Linked DNA regions of Homo sapiens: region 2 is linked to region 1. The links are contacts of gene promoters, found by promoter capture Hi-C in blood cells and fetal thymus (Javierre and others, 2016). All regions are on one chromosome and are shown on one strand. Each heading gives the region's core, a stretch centred on a gene start or on the middle of the fragment in contact. The rest is flanking DNA. Distances are from core to core; before and after follow the strand shown.

Evidence for each region. Contacts are between HindIII fragments. The CHiCAGO score rates a contact against its expected background, and 5 or more counts as called.
Region 2: a fragment that was not itself captured here is called in contact with the fragment with the promoter of LPCAT2 in region 1 in 1 of 17 cell types (monocytes); the score reaches 6.1 in monocytes.

The regions. Positions count from the first base shown.
Region 1 is chr16:55,506,517-55,513,842 of GRCh38, reverse strand. LPCAT2 (lysophosphatidylcholine acyltransferase 2) reads right to left here and starts at 4,771. Exons shown (of 14, transcript NM_017839.5): 1 at 4,491-4,771. The coding sequence starts at 4,661. It overlaps MMP2 (matrix metallopeptidase 2), which reads right to left. Exons shown (of 13, transcript NM_004530.6): 13 at 7,152-7,326. The HindIII fragment of the contact is 4,685 bases long and covers 3,923-7,326 here.
Region 2 is chr16:55,821,863-55,829,188 of GRCh38, reverse strand. It overlaps CES1 (carboxylesterase 1), which reads left to right. Exons shown (of 14, transcript NM_001025195.2): 2 at 215-422; 3 at 2,894-3,038; 4 at 5,506-5,639. Among named protein-coding and RNA genes, the nearest start is that of CES1, 7.6 kb to the left of the region's middle. The HindIII fragment of the contact is 1,450 bases long and covers 1,522-2,971 here.

The sequences.
Region 1 (7,326 bases), core at 3,522-6,021:
ACAGTCTTCCCAATGAGGCATTCCAGGCAGCCACCAGACTGACCAGTAATGACAATTCCTTGGGAATGGGGCTTTGAAAATGCTCCAACACTATTTTTCCCCCTCTAGTGGCTGACAGGTTGCTGGTTTTCATTATGACTGTAGGCCGTTGGTTTTTAAGGCTACTACAGAGCTGAGGATGAGGAATTAGAATAAAATTAAACTGTAACGAAGCCTACTATTCTAACTAAGAGTCAGCACTCTTAAATAAATGCTCCTTGGATTGTTGAAAGCCTTTGGTTAATTTTCAGAGCTAAGACAAAGTTGATTCTGATTTTTTTTTTTTGTTTTCATTGCTTTTATAGAGAAGATAATTTTCAGAGGCCTTTACTTCATCAGTTTTGCTGATGTCTCATCTCAGTTTTTTTCATTCTGCTTTTTAGACTGAATAATTTCTAGTGACCTATCTTCAAGTTCACTAACACCTTCTTCTACCATCTTCAATGTGTTGTTGAGCCCATCCAGTGAATTTTTCATTTCAGATATAACAGTTTTCAGTTTTGAATGCCCATTTGGTTCTCTTTTACATTTTCTATTTCTCTGCTAAGCTCCTTCCAACTATTCATTCATTATGCCATTCTTTACTTTTAAGTCCTTGAGCATTTTTATAATAGCTCCTTTCAAGTATTTTTCTGCGAAGTCCTACATTTGATCATCTTAGGGTCTGTTTTTATTGCCTGATTTTTCTTTTGATCACAGGTCACATTTTCCTATTTCTTTGAATGTCTAGTACAGTTTTTATAGTATTTTGGCCATTTTGGGTGATATATTACAGATATTCTGGATTCTGTTATCCTTTTCTAAAGAATGTTGATTTCTGTCCTGGCAGGTAGGTAAAATTCTGGCTGATTGCATTCACTTTGTGAAGGCTTAGTTTTATACTTTTTTAGGGAAAATTTGTTTGAAGCTAGCCCTTAGTCTTAGACTGAAGCCTTAGTCCTAGGGTATAGGACTAGCTTTTCTCCTATGGTATCACCTTTGTGAGGTTTCAGTGTAAAGCCTGAGATGTTTGCCAAGGCCCCCTTAATTGGTGGGATTCTAACTGTGCCTTCCCTGTGGTGTCTATCAGTTGAAATGTCTGCTCAGTTTCTTCTTCCTTCCAGCTGTTACTTTCCTCCAGAGTCCTTGAAGGCTCCTTTGTAAATACACAGCTCAGGAATCGGCCAAGGTTTTGAGATCATTTATATGCCAATTTAGGGGCTCCCTCATTTCTAGTTTCCTCCTTTCTGGGACTTCCACCTTCGATTTTTAGTCACTTTGATAGTCTTGAACTTTGTGCTCTGATATATCATGTCAATCAATAAGGCTGAGGCTTTCTAGCAATCCCTTCATGTGGTGTCAAGTGATAACCTTCAGGGAAAAAAAGGGGCTGGGGTAATGTTACACAGTATAGAAGTATTATTTCAAGAAACAAATCCCTCCAGTTTCTGTCTGATTTGTGTTGCTCTATAGTGCCTTCGTGTAGTTTTTCATATTTTGACTAGGGTTTATAATTGTTTGTCTACATTGTCTACATTGAGCTACTCCACCATTCCTGAGACTAAAACTAGTCCTGTTAAATTATTATTATTCACTTGAAAACTGACTTACAAATATAATGAAACTTATGCTATCAGTCTTATTTCCTATAAAACAGAATACGTATTAGGTAAGATGAGTAGGAGTTTCAGAACTATAATATAGAAGGGATCTTGGATCCAGGAGATTTTTCTTGAAGCTCTGTGTACATGGTAAGCACACTATTTTTAGCTAATGTTATATTTATTTGAATGGTGGTGCAATGAAGTATGGTGGTATACTGGGGAAGAGTACTGTGGAGAAGATGAGACGACTCAAATTCCCAAGTCACTCTGGTAGGTCACTGGCTGAGATTCTCTTCAAAGAGGTATCATTATTAAAAAACAAGCAATAATCTTGACTGAAAGAAAGGACCATATAGCATAGACCCTGAAGAAAGAGTTGGAATGAGTTTAAAGTATATTAGCATAAGAGTCACTCATGTCTACACTGAGCAACCCATATGGATTTTAATTGAACAAGTTGCAAAATATTAGGCAACTTTTTTTTCTGTGCCATCTTCAAGGTTTGCAACAAATAATAGTGTCTAACAGTAAATCAATTTTGAGTTAACTCATTGACAAATTAAGAGAATTCATCATATTTCCATTTGGTAATATGTCATCTCCATTGGGTGGCCTTCTCTCAGTGTTATTCTCTGGTTTTCCTTCATTACACTTACTAAAACATGAGATTATATATTTTTGTACTTGTTTGTTTAACTATCTTAGTGAAATGTGAGGACAACAGTCCTTAAGCAAGACATTGATCATCATTTAAGATTAAACTTAGTCTAAATTAATCATACTAAGTCATACTTAAATGAAAGTGTGTCCACCTTTTAAACTGGATAATATGGACATTGTTTTTCTACCATGCCTATTCAAATCTTCCCTTTACCCAGATGATTCAAGCCACTGAAACCTCTTGTATCTCTGATCTATATAAATTTAAAAAGTATTTTTAATATCCAGACTTTGTTAAATCCCATTTAATCCAAGTAGTAAATTTTAAGTACAGTATATACTTTGTAGAAAATATATAGGATAACTATCAATATTATCAATATTAAGATCAACAAACAATAACAGATTATTTCACTTAATTGTAGCCCTCCTTTGAGTTATTAATATTCCAATGTAATAGACGAGAAAAGTATAGTTCAGAGAGGTTAAGTGACTTGGCCAAAGTCATACAACTAATAAATGACCAGTTCCTATAACTGACTAGCTATCATTCCATTATACTATAACTCTCAGAGAGTTATTTGGAAGAGATCTTTAAACAGTAACAAACCAGGTGATGGAAAAACTTAATAATTTATTATAGGTGCAATATAAATATTTGTCAACATTCCATGCTGTTTCTTTCCAAAATATGAAGTCAAATAGATGGGCATATTTTCATTTAAGTATGATTTAATTAAATCAGACTAAATTTAATCTTGAACAATGGTCTATGTATTTACAAATGTTTCAGAATGTGAAGACACAAAAAGAATATCTATTAATTTAAAGACATGAGGATCACATTTTTAAACGTTTAATTTCCTCACAAAGCAGTATTACTACATTCTTTATCTTCTTCCTCTCTCACACCCCTCTTCAACCAGACACCCATCTACCATTACTCAAGCCACCACCTGTGTTGTTTAGCTCTGCACTTAACCTTCCCCCACTGTAGAGGACAATGGTCTTAGTGCATACAAGCTGATTGCAAATATTATACTGCTTCAAATCCAAAGTAATGTGTGAGATGGACATGAAAACTTCAAAATTGTTCCCCCACCCCCCCAACCCCCGCAGAACACACGGACAAATGTGGTTAGCAGGGTCTATCTTGTTCTCTGATCACTAACTTCAACAAAGAGGAAGTCCAAAGAGTGCAACTGCCAATGGTAAAAGGAACCCTTTACAAGAAAAAGGAAAGGAAAGGAAACTTCCTTTGTGCATAACAGTATAGCCATTTTTAACAATGGAAAACAGCCTGGGCTACTACTTCTCATGCTTCAACTTAGGAAACGTTTTTAGGTGAAGACTGATTCTGGACCAAAACTTCTTGAACATCCTAAGCTGACTCAGTTGTCCCTTTTCTTTGATTCTGACTTCCCACCCTCCATCATGCTCCTGCTCAGCTAAATCTTTCCAGCCTTACCTGTTGTTCTAACCACAGACCTAGGCTCTCTGCCTTCTGCCTCACTCTTATCCATCCCATACTGACTCCTCTCCTTCCTAAGGCAAAAAAAAAAAAAAAAAGACTTCTTCAAATCTACTCTCCCGTAGTAGATCTGCCTCCCACTACACTCTCATAAACTCAAGTTGAAGCTTCTGTCACAGATTCACAGATTCCTTCAACCTTCTGGGGCATGGAATGTAGCCTGCGCCACCAGCCAGCTCAGTCTCTTCCTGTTTTGGATTCTCCTCTCAGGCCCGCATCTTCCCAGCATCTTCTCTCCTCCCGTGCCCGCTCAGACCATCCTCTAAATGTCCTCAATTCTCAGACACACATCTCCGCCCCTTTCAGGCTCACGGCCCCTCAGAAGTCCTCTCCTCTCAGATCCACTGCTCTTTCTTCCTCTGATGCCTTTGCTTCCCAGACCCACAACGCCCCTCAGACCCACGCGCCCCTCGACCGCCCTCCCCCGTCAGACCTACACCAGTCACCTGGACCCGCCCCAGACCCTGGCTCCCCTCGGGCCACCTCCCTCCTCAGACCCATGCCCCCTTCAGGCCACCTCCCTCCTCAGACTCTCGCCCGCCTCGGACCACCTCACTCCCTCAGACCCACGCCCCCCTCGGCCGCCCTCCTCTCTCAGACCCACACCCCTTACCTGGACCCCCCTCTGACCTAGGCCCCCCTCAGACCACCTCTCCCCTCAGACCCACGCCCCTCACCTGGACCCGCCTCGCGGAGCCGATCTGCGTCTGCTGCACGAAGGGGTTCGGCACCGGCGGCGGGAAGAAGGACGCCTGACGGGGCACCATGGGCGGCCGCAGCCCCACGTTCCCGACGCCGGCACCTGGCACTGTGGCCGCCACTTCCGCCGCCTGGGCGCACCGGCTCATAGTTGAGCCGGGCGTAGAACCCGGCCGAAGCGATCTACGCGGGCGCTGCAGCCAAAACTGAGCCGAAGACCTACTAGAGTCCCAGCCTAGGGCGACGCTGGGGAGCCTCTGCGCAGGCGCTGAAGTTACTTAGACGCCTGCTGCTGCCGCCCTGCCCCTTCGGCTGTGACACGCCCCAGGCTCTGGCCACACCCCCTCAGGCATCTGGCTCCACCCCCTTGGTAATATAGTCCATCCCCTCGGAGGGGAATGTTTTCCTTCCGAGCCAAGACCCTGAAGGGTACCCCAGGATCCCTAACATTCCACAGCGAGACACTAGGCAGAGTTCCCTGCTTTAGGGTCGGACGGACCTGGATTTTCAATCCCTTTTACTGGGCCTGTGACGCTGGCCAAATCACTATCTCTATGAACCTCGGTTGCCTTCCGTAAAATGCAGATAAATGTATTCTCAGATAATCCTAACCTGGATCCAGTAATGCCATTGAGCAACCACTTCCCCTGGGCTGTTCCATTAAGTGAGCTAATATTAATACACCCATGATGGCACTAGGAGTGGAATTTGTTTCACTCAAAACATAATGGACTGACAGGGGAGAGATGGTTCTCCAGAGGAAAACTGAGCTACTATTACCAGAAAAGGCAAAAATTACAGTTGCCCTCCACGCTAGATGAGGAACCTGACCCAGAAAAGGGAAATGTATTGGGCTGTGGCTCCCTTTCACACTGAGGAAGTTCAAGCCTGTTTGGACCTATGTGGGTGCTCGTGGGGGTGGGAGGGCAGGGGTTTGTCCCATTATCTGAGGACAGTTGATCAACCCTGAGTGGCTGAGAGTTAAAGGAAGGAGATGATAATCAACTCATCCCAACTGATCAACTCTTCTCACAGCAGGTAGGAAGGCCAGGATGAAAATCTGAGTCTGAGCCCTGGGGTTCTCCAAAGTTACCCTCTGAATGTCAGAATCTTCCAGCCCTACCACATAGATGTGTGGCCTTGAGTCAGTCACTTAACCTGAGTTTGCTTCCTTGTCTAGGAATGGGAGATTCATTCTAACTCCATAGAATTGTAGCAAGGATTAAATAAAATAATGCATGTGTAGTGTTCATAGAGAAACACTGAAGAAATGGCATGTTTTAAGCATTATTATGTTGTGGAGCCACTGACTTTTCTCTCAGTGTAACAGGGAACATTAATAACAGTGCATTACAGCCATGATAGAAGATTCCCCAGTCTAGGGGGTCTTCAAGTTGGGACTGGCAGACCCTTGAGACTCTTTAGCCAGATACCTGCACAGAAAGATGTCTTTCCAACTGTCAACAACCTAAGCCAGGCCAGGTGCAGTGGCTCACGCCTGTAATCCTAGCACTTTGGGGGCTGAGGAGGGTGGATCCCTTGAGCCCAGGAGTTCGAGACCAGCCTGGGCAACAAAGAGAGACTCCACCATCTCTAAAAAAAATTAAAAATTAGCTGGCTGTGCTGTTGCATGCCTGCAGTCCCAGCTACTCAGGAGGCTGAAGTGGGAGGATTGCTTGAGCCCAGAAGATCAAGTCTGCAGTGAGCTATGATCATGCCATTGCACTCCAGCCTGGGTGACAGAGAAAGACACTGTCTCAAAAAAGAAAAAAAAAGAAGAAGAAGAAACAAAAAGAATCTGAGTCAAGGGGACAGGCCATGGGAGGATAAAAGATAGAAAAGATGGGGCCGAGAGTGGTGGCTCACACCAATAATCCTAGCACTTTGGGAGGCCGAGATGGGTGGATTGCCTGATCTCAGGAGTTCGAGACCAGCCTGGGCAACACGGTGATACCTGTCTCTACCAAAATACAAAACAAATTAGCTGGGTATGGTGGCGTGCACCTGTAATCCCAGCTACTTGGGAGGCTGAGGCAGGAGAATCACTTAAACCTGGGAGGCAGAGGTTACAGTGAGCCGAGATTGCGCCATTGCACTCCAGCCTGGGTGACAGAGTGAGACTCCATCTCAAAAACAGAAAAAAGAGATAGAAACAATGACATCAGGCTCACTGAGGAGGTCACCTGTAGAGTTCACTCCTTACGCACCTTCCTCACCAGCCCCATCATAAGAGGCCAGAAGCAATATATATACTATCAATCAGACTATCGGAGCCAGAAAGGGCCTCAGAAAAACCCCAGGCCTTCAATTTCTGTTCAGCAGTAGCTCCAGAATTTCTATGTAGGAGATTAGGAGTGGGTAGACTGGTAGGAAGGAGTAAGGAGCTTATCCATTAATACCAGCTGTGTTTAGAAGCAAGCACAGTATTTCTCCCTTAGCTGTGTTTACCCAGCGTGGTTTTGGGGGTGGTGGAGGGTAGCAGGAGCGGTTTTGAAGGTGGTGGGGGTGTTTTTGAGGGTGGCGGAGGGTGGTGAGATTCTGGTTTGAGAGCTAAAGCTCCTCTGCTAGGCTATCCTTTGGCCTTGTAGGTCCCTAATAGCTATGGGACCCTGGAAAAATCACTTCTCTTGAGCCATCAGTCTCTTCATCAATAAGATTCAACTAATAATGGCCTTTTTTATTTATGTGGTTGGAAAGGTTAAAATAGGTGACACGTGAAAAGTGCCTTGCACATAGAAAGCACTCTATTAATTGAGGGGGATATTATTGTTACTGTTCATTGTTAGTAGTAGCATTAAAACTGATATGATTGCT
Region 2 (7,326 bases), core at 997-3,496, 320 kb before region 1:
TTTTATGCCTCCAATTCTAGTTTGCCCATTAAACCAGCTCAATGGGTTAGGGAGGACATTGATCGTCATCCCTATTGTACATCAAGAGAAACTGAGGCCTAGAGGGTTTAGGTGACTTATTTAAGGTCACTCACTTAGAAAGCGGCAAACTCCACCTGGAATCTGGGTCCAGCCTTTTGCCTCTGATGCATCCTGATTTATTCTCCATGTCCAGCAGGGCATCCGTCCTCGCCACCTGTGGTGGACACCGTGCATGGCAAAGTGCTGGGGAAGTTCGTCAGCTTAGAAGGATTTGCACAGCCTGTGGCCATTTTCCTGGGAATCCCTTTTGCCAAGCCGCCTCTTGGACCCCTGAGGTTTACTCCACCGCAGCCTGCAGAACCATGGAGCTTTGTGAAGAATGCCACCTCGTACCCTCCTATGTAAGCTGCGGCATGTGTCCTTGGGGATGTTTACCTCAAAGTGATGCAGGAAGGAGTCAAGGCAGTCCCCTGACGGGCTGATCCTTTGCTCTGGACTCCTTAAGATCTTTGTAGATCCTTAAGAACATTCCAGAACTCTCACAGCATTCTGGAGTCCATTATTTAACACATGTTTATTGAGCACCTGCTGTGTGCCAGGCGTGTTCTGGGTTCTTGGGATCCATTAGTGAAAAAGCAAAGATCCCTAGGTTCCTGGAGCGTGCATTCTAGCAGGGGGAGACAGATAAGAACAATATGCAAATTACTCCGTGGATTATGTGATATGATAGAACAGGAAAAGTGCCTTGGAAACAAAGAAGCAGTTAAGCAGGTGAGGGAGATCAGAAGGAAGGATCCCATGAATTCTGCTGTCTTGAATTTTGACATAGTCGGGGAGAGGAGTGGGCCAGGAGGTGTGTGGGTGGCAAGTGTACTGAGGTGTCCACTCGGCAAGTGCTCAACTCTCAGGTGTGCCTATTCCTGAGGAGAACAATGGAAGGTGTGTCCATTCACCCTGGCCAAGCTGGGAAGAAAAGCCCAAAGGTTCTAATTGGCCTCACCATCACTCCCCAGGGTAGGAAGGACCCTACAGACATCAGAGCAGACCCTGCTCATCTCAGCAGCCAGGTGTTCGGAGGCTTTCCAGCAGCCCACCAGTGGCCGCCTTCTTTTCTTCCCTTTTTTAAAAAATAATGTTTACTGTTTTTATTTTCTGAGTGCAAATGTAATATATACTTATTACAGAAAATTTAGGAAATACAGAGAAAGGAAAGTAAGAAAATTAAGATCACATACAATATTCCACCACCCAGAGAGAACAACTATCAGTATTTTAGATGGTAAAGTATTATGATGTAATATATTGTTTGTATTCCAGTTTTTTTGCCTGTTGATATACTTTCTTTCTTTAAAAGGGAATGCTATATTGAGATAATTTGGATGCCTGCTTTGCTCATTTATAAGTATATCATGAGCATAATTCCATGCCATTAAATAGCACAGCCTGGTATTAAAAGCTGCATTACATTGGGTATTGAACCATAATTAATTTCCCCAAGCTTTTATTTGGGGTCATTAAGTTATATATGATGTTTTTAATAATATAACATCATGAATGTGAAACATTTATGCACATTCATGAATAGTTTAGGATAACTTCTCAGAAATGACATTTCTGAGTCAAAGAGTATATATTTCTTGTTTGATTTCCCTCCCAAAATATTCCAACTACACTCCTCCCATTGACGTATGAACATCTCCATTTGGCAGACTCTTGGCAATGCTTGGGATTATTAAAAATATTTTTGGCTATTGTATAGGCAAAATAATAATAACAATACCAGCAATATTATTTTCCTCTTTAATTTGCATTTATCTGAAGACCAGTGAGTTCTTTTTTCCTTTCTTCACATTGGAATGTATTATTATTATTATTATTATTATTATTATTGTTATTCCTCTTGCACTTGGTGATCTTAGGAAAATTTCCCAGGATGGAATCAAGAAGTCATCTTTGCTGGCTCTGATTCTGTCACTTGAGAGCTGTGTCATCCCAGAGTCTGAGTGCCTCAGTTTCCTCATGTACCTAGTGGGGGCGGTGATGACTGCCTTTTGGTACATTGAGGTCTGGGACTGTTGCTTATAATATACTTGTGTATAAGCACCACATGGCATGGATCTACCTGGCTATGTAACCTTGGTCAGGTTCTCTAACCTGCCTAGGCTTCAGTTTTCTCATCTGTAAAATGGAGATAATAGAACCTACCTAATGGGACTAGTCTGAGGCTTAAATGAGTTAATATACAAAAGGTACTTAAAACAGTGCCTGGAACACTGGGAGAACTAAATAACTATTACCAGTGTTCATCTATGTTGCATCCTTGAGATCTTTCATCAGGGCAACACAACAGCAACTGCCTGGGAGAGGCAGGTGGTAGAATCTTGGCATGTCAGGGCTGCAAGACTCATGTAGAAATCACTCCGCTCACTTAGACCTGGCGGATTGGGACGCAGAGTGTAAAAGGAATTCACCCAAGGTCACCCCATAAATGCATGGGAGAGACAAAACTAGAGCACAATTCTCCTGATGTTGTCCCACAAAGATATCACCCCTGAGCTATTGTGAGAAATGTCACCTCCCAGGGAGGATCAGTGTATTAGTGGTCTCCCCTCCTTGATGCTGGGAGTTCCAAAGGCTCTGGAAAGGGAAGAGGTGTGAAGCCCTTCTCACTCTGCTTGGTCTTAGGAGACCTTAGTGAGTCCCAGCGCCCCCACCTGAAGCCCCTGATAGCCTCCTACCCACTACAATGTCGTGAGTCTGTAACTATCAAGTCCATTTCCAGGCTTAAACCTCCCAGTCCAAGGCGCTGCCGTAGAAAACACCTCGCTTAGATCTGGCTGAACTTCAGGGGTTCTTCTTTCCCCCTCCCCAGGTGCACCCAAGATCCCAAGGCGGGGCAGTTACTCTCAGAGCTATTTACAAACCGAAAGGAGAACATTCCTCTCAAGCTTTCTGAAGACTGTCTTTACCTCAATATTTACACTCCTGCTGACTTGACCAAGAAAAACAGGCTGCCGGTAAGTTGTGGGACCCCCTGGTCAAGGCGTGTCAGTGCCAGTACCCCGCATCTTCTGGGGCAGAATGGAAGGGAGTGAAGGCAGCTTGGGGAGGGAGCTGCACAGGCCAGGATTGTTTCAGAGACCCCAGGGCCTCCACAGGAAACACTGGTTTTCCACACATCAGTTTACCCTCGTGACATAGGCACTCTGGGGGAGTTTGTTTTGCATCTTTAATGAACATCTTAATTGTTCCAAGTTCCCTCATGCTAATAGAAGGATGAGAATGATTACTTTTAGTTACTAGATTAAAAATCTGATACCAAGATTGGGTAAGACATGATTTTCAATGTTAGTGGTGGAAAGAACTTAGAGAAAAGCCAACACCCCAACTCTTCCTTTTCAAATAGAGAAACTGAGGCCCAGACAGGGAAGGGGAGGTCACCCAGTAGGGTAGTTTTGGCTCAAGTCTTCTGATCTTCACATCAGTGCTTTTGACATGGAGTAGGGCATTGAGCTTGTATGTGGCCTTTCTCCAGCACAGCAACATTCATCTGGGGTAACTTTCACTGTCCAGGTACGGATGTTGGGGGCGGAGCCTGGACAATCCCAGAAGCTCTTCCTTTTGCCTTTGGCCAAATAGCTGGGATTTCTTTTTGTACCTAATTTCCCTCCCTAATTGTCTTGGCAAAGGCTGATGACCCAGTGAGTCAGAATTTCCCAAATAAATGAAGGGCAGGACATGGGGCAGCCCGCCAGCTGCAGGTTGGAGGGTGGGGAGGGTCTGCTGGCAAAGGAGGCACCCAGGGTGAAAAAACAAGGGGTGTTGTGTCTAGCCAGTCTCCCAGGGGCACCGTGGCATGGTGCCTAGGAGTGGGGGAGCAGGTCTGCGAACGTGGAACTAGAAGTTGGTCCTACATGTGCTTTGTGAGACACAGGAAGTGAGAGAAAGGTTTACTCATTCATTCATTCATTCATTCATTCATTCATTCATTCTTCTATTGTGTACTCAGTGCCCCATATACACAGTTAGACCTGGGGCTTCAGGGAAAGGAGGAACATGAATCCACTCCACACAGCCCCTGCCTTCAAGGATCTTGCCTTCTGGGCTGTAGAGACATATCCTCCCTTCAGCACTTTATTGCAGGCCAGCCCTCAGGCTCAGTCTTCACACAAAGATGAATGCACACTCAATCCCTCCCCAGGAGGCAGGCAGGGATTAGAGTTGTGGGAGAAACAAGGGCTCTGGGAACCTGGAGTCAGGAGAACCTCCAGGAATGGCCACAGGCTCTAGAACTACACGGTCTGGGTTTAAATCCTGGTTCTGCTTTTGACTAGCTGAGAGACTTGGGAGTTTCTTAACTTCTCTAAGCCTCTGTTTCCTCAAAATGGGAATCATCACATATGATCAGTCAAGGGTGACCACTAAGCGTGATCTCAGTCCCTGGCTAAAAAGGCAGAGGCAGGCTCATACCCCTGCCCTAACAGTGGACTCACTGCACTGTGGCCGGCGCCTGCAGTGTGCTGGGCAGCTCAACATGTGGACTCTGGAGGCAGACTGCCTGGGTTAAAGTCCTGCTGCTACCACTTTTGAGTTGTAGGACCTTGGGCAGGTTAAGTGCCTCCATTTTCCCACCTGGATAATGGGACATTATTAGTACCTACCCAATGTATAGTTTATTTTACTGTGCTTAGAACAGCACTTGGGACATAGTTTATGTTACGAGTTCTTTTATATTTCATGAATAATATTATTACAATATCATTATTTTAGCCACTCTCACTTCTTCCCCACTATGTGGACTTTTAAAATGCAAGAATCATGCATGAGGAATTGTATCCACTCTCATCCTCCAGTATTAGCAGAGTCCCTGGCACATGCTAAGTTCTCGACAGTGTTAGTCCATTGACTGAAGGCATCCTGAAGTGGGTGGGTTTTAGGCTGGGTTCTGCAGGGTGGATAGGATTTGGGGATGCAGAGGCATAAGGAGGCATTTGAGGAAGAGACACCATCACAGGCACGTGTGCTTCTCGAGACAATCATTCATGCACAGAGAAGTTTACTTCACCAAGAGATAGTTAACTGAGATGAAGCTGAGATACAAGGGCTGCCCCATGGGTACGCTGAGTGCATGAATAGTCTAGGCTTGAGGGTGATGGGAGTGTCCTCCCGAAGAGGACATCCTTAGCCTTTGCTATGCCCATGATGATGTTCTCAGCATCAAGAGCCTTTCGGGGAGGAGGCACTGGAGGCTGGGTAGAAAGGAAGGGACAGCCAGGGTATGTGCAGTAGGGTGGTGGCTTGGGTCCCAGTTGGGAGAATTATGCAGGAGAGAGATTGCCTTTTGCAAAGTTGCTGGGAGCTGGTGAACTTTGGATAGCATCCTCCTTCAGTTGTAACCAACAGGTAGGTCACCAAACAAGACATCTTCTGAGTGCTCCCTGGCTCTGTGTCCTGTAACTGGTATGTTGCTTCCTCTCTGCCCAGGTGATGGTGTGGATCCACGGAGGGGGGCTGATGGTGGGTGCGGCATCAACCTATGATGGGCTGGCCCTTGCTGCCCATGAAAACGTGGTGGTGGTGACCATTCAATATCGCCTGGGCATCTGGGGATTCTTCAGGTAAGAAATCGGACTCTCCTCACTGCACTTTGGCCCCCAGAACGAGGATGCTAGGACCCAGCTCTTGTCATGCCAGCCCTCAGGGGAGCTTAGCTAGGTTCCACAGTAAGGCATCCAAGCCCCTTCGTAATTGGACACTACCTACCCTCTCACTACCCAGCCACTCATCCACTTGCCTCTGAGCTTTTGCATGTGCTGTTCCCTCTGCCTGGAATGCTTATTCTATCCGAAGAACACCTCTTCATCCTGCAAGACCCAGCCCCCAGTTACCTCCACTGAAAGACTCATCTCCTCTTCACCTATGTTTCTCCAGCACATTGCTTTTCTCTGTCATGACACTTAGCAGTCAGCCCAGCAGGTGAAGGTTGACACATCTGACTTCTCATGGAAAGGAGGGAAGGGGCAGAGTCACAGAGGGAGCTCAGGGCATGTTGTGGGTGAAGGAATGGGGGCTGCAGATGGTGGGGTGTGGGAGCATCTGACCCCTTCCTGTGGGAGTGTTGGGACCCACTCAGCTCATTTTCTGCTTGAAATTTGGCAAGTGTGGGAAGCAAGGATGGAGTCTTCCCATCAGGTCTCCATGGGGACAGGAGTCAGATCTCCTTCAAGGCGCAACTGCTATGAACCTTTTCTAAGGTTCTCCTCCATCCATGCCAGTCAGGTTTCTTCCTGAACACGCCACTCAGTTGGTCTCATTGCGGTCATCAATGACCTCCCCCTGCTCTCCACCCAACCTCTCAGGACTTCCCAGCAGCAGCAGATGGCCACTCAGCCTCTGTGACATGCTTCCTTCCCAGCCCCTTTCCTGGTCCTCCCTCCTCCCTGTCCACAGGCCTCTCTTGTCTCCCTCTCCCTCCTTACTAATTCCCAGTGATCCCAGGGAGCAGCCAGAGCCCCTGTTTCCAGCCCACCTCACCTTTGAAGCCCACAGGCATCACTCACTCCCTCCTCCCCACCCCTGGCTGTCTAAAGGGTGCCCCACTCTTCCCAGGGACAAGTTGAATCCTTGACTCCCACTGCCCCTCCCCAACAGAGACCCCCTTCTCCTCCCACCACGCCTCCACTCAGCTTCTGCTGCCACATCCTCCCTTGGGCTCAGGAGAAGGCCTTGTGGACAGCCCGGACTGTCTCTTTTCTCACAACCCTCTTGGCTGCGCCTTCAGAATCCACTCAGAGTCCCCTACTTTGCACCTCTTCCCTGGCTCCTAGCCCAGCCAAAGCTCTCTGTCTGTCACCTTGATTATGATCTTTAACACTTTCAGATCCCTGCCACTTTTATATAAAGCTGAGTTGCACAGTAGCCAGAGTGATCACTTAACACATGCATTGAATCATGCGATGCCTCTGCACAAAACCCTGCAGGGGCTTCCCATGCTCCTTACCATGACAGCCGAAGTTCTTGCCAGGCCCCAGGGCCCTCTCTAGCTGCACCTCCTGACTCACACTTTCTTTCACTGGGCCCCAGGCCCTTTGCACTTGCTTTTTCTTCTGCCTGGAATTCCTTTCTTTGGATATTTACAAGGTTCATGTGCTCATTGTGCTTGTTTTATGAAGGTCTTTGCCTCCAAAACCTCAAATGTCACTGCCTCCAAAAAGCCTTCCCTGATTGGGATCTGAAATGGCACCCCCTGTCCCACTCCTGTTTTTTTCCTTACTCCATTGTATTTACCTCAGTGCACTTTGACTA